2 separate regions of the Homo sapiens genome follow, and region 1 is linked to region 2. The links are contacts of gene promoters, found by promoter capture Hi-C in blood cells and fetal thymus (Javierre and others, 2016). All regions are on one chromosome and are shown on one strand. The core of a region is centred on a gene start or on the middle of the fragment in contact, and the rest is flanking DNA. Distances in the headings are between cores, read along the strand shown.

Region 1 (2,700 bases), core at 43-2,542, 110 kb after region 2:
CTTCTGCGTGTTTGCTCTTCTTGCCTATTGAAAGGGGAGTCCAGAAAGTAAAACTTTCAATAATTCAGTGTTCGTGAAGCTGGTCCCCGGCCAGCTTTGCTGAAAGCAGGGGGTGTACGCATAGCACACATTCGTCCTTCAGCATCATTTCTTCTGAAACCAAAGGTGTCTTTTTTTTTTTATTTGTATGACTAATAAGACTTATGTAAGTTTATGCTTATTTTTGCCTTTATGACTACATAATAATTTATAGAATCAACTAAAATCAGCTATCCATGGTATTTTGCTTGTATTTTGCCTTTTAGGTTATTATTCTTGGCGAAATTCAAAGGATGGCTCCTGGTTCATCCAGTCGCTTTGTGCCATGCTGAAACAGTATGCCGACAAGCTTGAATTTATGCACATTCTTACCCGGGTTAACCGAAAGGTGGCAACAGAATTTGAGTCCTTTTCCTTTGACGCTACTTTTCATGCAAAGAAACAGATTCCATGTATTGTTTCCATGCTCACAAAAGAACTCTATTTTTATCACTAAAGAAATGGTTGGTTGGTGGTTTTTTTTAGTTTGTATGCCAAGTGAGAAGATGGTATATTTGGTACTGTATTTCCCTCTCATTTTGACCTACTCTCATGCTGCAGAGGGTACTTTAAGACATACTCCTTCCATCAAATAGAACCACTATGAAGCTACCTCAAACTTCCAGTCAGGTAGTTGCAATTGAATTAAATTAGGAATAAATAAAAATGGATACTGGTGCAGTCATTATGAGAGGCAATGATTGTTAATTTACAGCTTTCATGATTAGCAAGTTACAGTGATGCTGTGCTATGAATTTTCAAGTAATTGTGAAAAAGTTAAACATTGAAGTAATGAATTTTTATGATATTCCCCCCACTTAAGACTGTGTATTCTAGTTTTGTCAAACTGTAGAAATGATGATGTGGAAGAACTTAGGCATCTGTGGGCATGGTCAAAGGCTCAAACCTTTATTTTAGAATTGATATACACGGATGACTTAACTGCATTTTTAGACCATTTATCTGGGATTATGGTTTTGTGATGTTTGTCCTGAACACTTTTGTTGTAAAAAAATAATAATAATGTTTAATATTGAGAAAGAAACTAATATTTTATGTGAGAGAAAGTGTGAGCAAACTAACTTGACTTTTAAGGCTAAAACTTAACATTCATAGAGGGGTGGAGTTTTAACTGTAAGGTGCTACAATGCCCCTGGATCTACCAGCATAAATATCTTCTGATTTGTCCCTATGCATATCAGTTGAGCTTCATATACCAGCAATATATCTGAAGAGCTATTATATAAAAACCCCAAACTGTTGATTATTAGCCAGGTAATGTGAATAAATTCTATAGGAACATATGAAAATACAACTTAAATAATAAACAGTGGAATATAAGGAAAGCAATAAATGAATGGGCTGAGCTGCCTGTAACTTGAGAGTAGATGGTTTGAGCCTGAGCAGAGACATGACTCAGCCTGTTCCATGAAGGCAGAGCCATGGACCACGCAGGAAGGGCCTACAGCCCATTTCTCCATACGCACTGGTATGTGTGGATGATGCTGCCAGGGCGCCATCGCCAAGTAAGAAAGTGAAGCAAATCAGAAACTTGTGAAGTGGAAATGTTCTAAAGGTGGTGAGGCAATAAAAATCATAGTACTCTTTGTAGCAAAATTCTTAAGTATGTTATTTTCTGTTGAAGTTTACAATCAAAGGAAAATAGTAATGTTTTATACTGTTTACTGAAAGAAAAAGACCTATGAGCACATAGGACTCTAGACGGCATCCAGCCGGAGGCCAGAGCTGAGCCCTCAGCCCGGGAGGCAGGCTCCAGGCCTCAGCAGGTGCGGAGCCGTCACTGCACCAAGTCTCACTGGCTGTCAGTATGACATTTCACGGGAGATTTCTTGTTGCTCAAAAAATGAGCTCGCATTTGTCAATGACAGTTTCTTTTTTCTTACTAGACCTGTAACTTTTGTAAATACACATAGCATGTAATGGTATCTTAAAGTGTGTTTCTATGTGACAATTTTGTACAAATTTGTTATTTTCCATTTTTATTTCAAAATATACATTCAAACTTAAAATTACCAATGTCTTTGAGTTTTTTGTTGCTGTTGTTTTTGATGTTGTGCCACTAATTGGAAGTTAAAATGTTTTTAATCAGAAGCTTGATTTGGAAGAGTCAAAGAGGAAGCACCAGAACCCTAGCCTAGTTTTTTGAGGTGGTGGCAGTTAGATCAGGGCAGACAGATCGCTTATGCTTCCCAAGTCCTCGCAGAAGTTCCTGACCCTGAAATGACCACAATGCCAGGAAGATACTTTGTTTGCATAGATCTCAGGCCTTAAATATGACCATATGTGTGAATTTGAAACTTTTTCCACAAGATAAGTGTCTAATGGGAAGAACAACCTAAGAGGATATACAACAAGCCGTTGATGTTTACTGATGGCCTCCTCTGGGCGCTGGGATTTTGACAGAGGAATTTGCTGTCTTTTTACTTCATATGCTTAGAAAAGGAATATAGGAAAGTGGGGTTGTGGGTGGTTTTAAATTTCTTCCAATATTTCTGTAATGAAAATATATTACTTTTAAATCAGAAACAAAATAAATTGTCCTAACTAGGAAAAGGAGACTTCTGTTTCTGAGGAGTAGAGAGTAGCATAAATGAGTTCTTT
Region 2 (2,700 bases), core at 1-2,500:
AGCAAAACTCCAACTCAAAAAAAAAAAAAAAAAAAAAAAAAGAACTTACTCATGTAACCAAATAGCACCTGCACCCCAATAATTTATGGAAAAATAAAATAAATAAAAAATAAAAGCAATAGCTTTAGTAAGAAAGGGCACTTGCAGCATACCTACCAAATATCATATAAAGTTTAGAAACATACAATAATCAATACATTATTTGGGGCTATATCAAGGTAGAAAACCACAGGAATGATACACATAAAATCAGAAGAGTGGTTATTCTTTGGAGGAGGAGGATACCATTCAGAGGGGTACCCAAGAGTTATATATAAAAATGATCCATATCCCCATGTAGTGCTGGTTACACGGATGTTTGTTTTTATCTTTACATTACACGTTATATTCTTTCATATGCATGAAACGTAATATTTTTGTCGTAGTAAAATATACATAACAAAATTTAGCATTTTAACCGTTTTTAACTTTACAGTATTGTGGCATTAAGTACCTTCACCTTGTGCATCCATCCACCACTATTTCCAGAACGTTTTCATCATCCCAAACTGCTTTTGGTATCATATCCAAGAAATCATACCAAGTCCAATGTTATGAAGTTTTTGCTCTGTTTTCTTCTAAGAGTTTTAATTTTAGCCTTTATAGTTAGGTCTTTGATTCATTTTGCGTTAATTTTTATACGCGGTGTAAGGTAAGGGTTCAATTACATTCTTCTGCATTACACATTTTTAAACACAAACAAAATAAAAGAACAAAAGGAACCCTGTCCATTTACAAATGAAGGTATTGGGATAGCGGTAAAGTAACATGCTAAGCTCAGACAGCTGATAAAGGCAGCAGGGGCTGGAAGCCAAATCCTGTAGGCCTGGAAAGACGACTGCGGCCTCAGCGACAACAGCTGCGAACACGGGTCTCCACCCACCCTCTTACCTGCCCACGACTCAGGGACACTAGCTCCTCCCCTTTCCCCACCCCACAAGGGGCCGTCCCACGTGGCTCCCGGGCTTTCTGGCGCCGGAAAACTGGCGATGCGGGTGGGCGCGAAAGCCCGGAAAACTTTGGCATGTTTTGGACCGTAGGTAACTGGTTGTGCGGCATGGACTCCAGCTCCGTTGCGCTGTAATAACCAGACCCAGTTTTCCCTCACGCTCCAGGCCAGGGAGGAGCCCGGGGGCCGCTCAGGAAGTCCTGCGCACGCGCGCGTGCTCGGCCCGGATTGGCTGTTCGGAGCGGCGAGGGGCTTGGCGGGAGCTTCCAGTCGCTCGAGAGCGGAGAGCGGCACCATGGCCCCGCGGGGGCGGCGGCGGCCGCGGCCTCACAGGTCTGAGGGGTAAGTACTGCCGACCCTCGGGAGCGCGGGGCCGGAGACCAGCTTGAACTGCTTCCTCGCCTGCCGTGGTTTGCGCCTCCCGGCGCTGTTGGTGCTCCACTGTGGAGGTCGCCCGAGTGGCCAATCGCCCGGGTCCCCGGCTTCCTCCTCAGTCTAGTGGGGATAACAGTGATCCCACCTGCACGGGCCTGTCGGGGCCTAACACTGCCTGGCGGGTGGGAGAGACGTCAGCCAGTGTCGTGTCGTTTTGTGGGGAGGGGGAGTGCCGTCCAAAGTAGTGAGTCTCAAAGTGCTAGCTTGAAAGCAAAATATTCAGCAAATACGTATTGCCTGCGGTTTGCCAGACTTTGTTAGTGGAGTTTTATTCTCTGACTGGGAATCAGTTTTCTTATTTTGAAGACCCTGGTGTTTTCTTACTGCAAACCACAGACCGTAAACTGGAGCATAAATCCGGCTGGGGGACCGAGCTGCCGCTTGCGGTTCTCCAGGATGGCTCGAGCGGTTTTTGTTTACCAAAGAAAGCGAGCGTTTGGTCGGTTGCAAAACGCGCTCTAGAATGCTGGTCGCTGATTCGTTGGCGAATGGCCATCCAAGGCCCGGCCTGGATCTGGCGGGAAGGGTCTCGGCTTGCTGCAGACGGTGCACAAAGCCATACGCCAAGACGATCTGAAGAGAACAGGAGTTCCCCCGGGCCTGGGAAGGCTGCCTGGAGGAGGAGGTGCTGGTAGATGCGGGGTTAGGGTGGAAAAGCTGGAGCAGGACACCGCAGGTGGGTGGGGAAACCGAGACCAGACTTCTGTGGCCAGTGGAGGAGAATGAAGACTCCCCCAGTGCAAAAAAGGATTAGAAGAGAATGTCAGCCTTCAATGTCAGCTGAAAAGAGTTTATCTGAAAGGCTAGTGGTTTTTGTTGTCTTTTTTTATTTTTATCTTTTAACATTTTTGGGTTTGAGACTCATGAAATCTGTTCATGCCTCCTCCCAAAACACACTTACGCACATACAACAGAATTTTTTTTTTTTTTTTTTTTTGAGACGGAGTCTCACTCTGTGGCCCAGGCTGGAGTGCAGTGGCGCAATCTCCGCCTCCCAGGTTCAAGCGATTTTCCTGCCTCAGACTCCAGAGGAGCTGGGATTACAGGCGCTCGCCCCCACGTCCAGCTAATTTTTGTATTTTTAGTAAAGACGGGGTTTCACCATGTTGGCCAGGATGGTCTTGATTTCCTCACCTCGTGATCCGCCCTCCTGGGGTTCCCAAAGCGCTGAGATTACAGGCATGAGCCACCGCGCCTGGCCCAGAAATTTTACCTGTGGGTTGTCACAGAGGTTTCTGTCTCTCAGAAGCCCCACCTTGACTCCAGCGTAAGGCAAG

What was found. Contacts are between HindIII fragments. The CHiCAGO score rates a contact against its expected background, and 5 or more counts as called.
Region 1: a fragment that was not itself captured here is called in contact with the fragment with the promoter of CENPU in region 2 in 1 of 17 cell types (erythroblasts); the score reaches 5.7 in erythroblasts.

What each region holds. Positions count from the first base shown.
Region 1 is chr4:184,627,107-184,629,806 of GRCh38, reverse strand. CASP3 (caspase 3) reads left to right here. Exons shown (of 8, transcript NM_004346.4): 8 at 306-2,111. The coding sequence ends at 535. Among named protein-coding and RNA genes, the nearest start is that of LINC02365, 3.6 kb to the right of the region's middle. The HindIII fragment of the contact is 1,803 bases long and covers 391-2,193 here.
Region 2 is chr4:184,732,646-184,735,345 of GRCh38, reverse strand. It overlaps CENPU (centromere protein U), which reads left to right and starts at 1,250. Exons shown (of 13, transcript NM_024629.4): 1 at 1,250-1,330. The coding sequence starts at 1,284. RefSeq lists a silencer at 1,244-1,303 and enhancers at 1,674-1,793, 944-1,810. The HindIII fragment of the contact is 4,927 bases long and covers 1-2,700 here.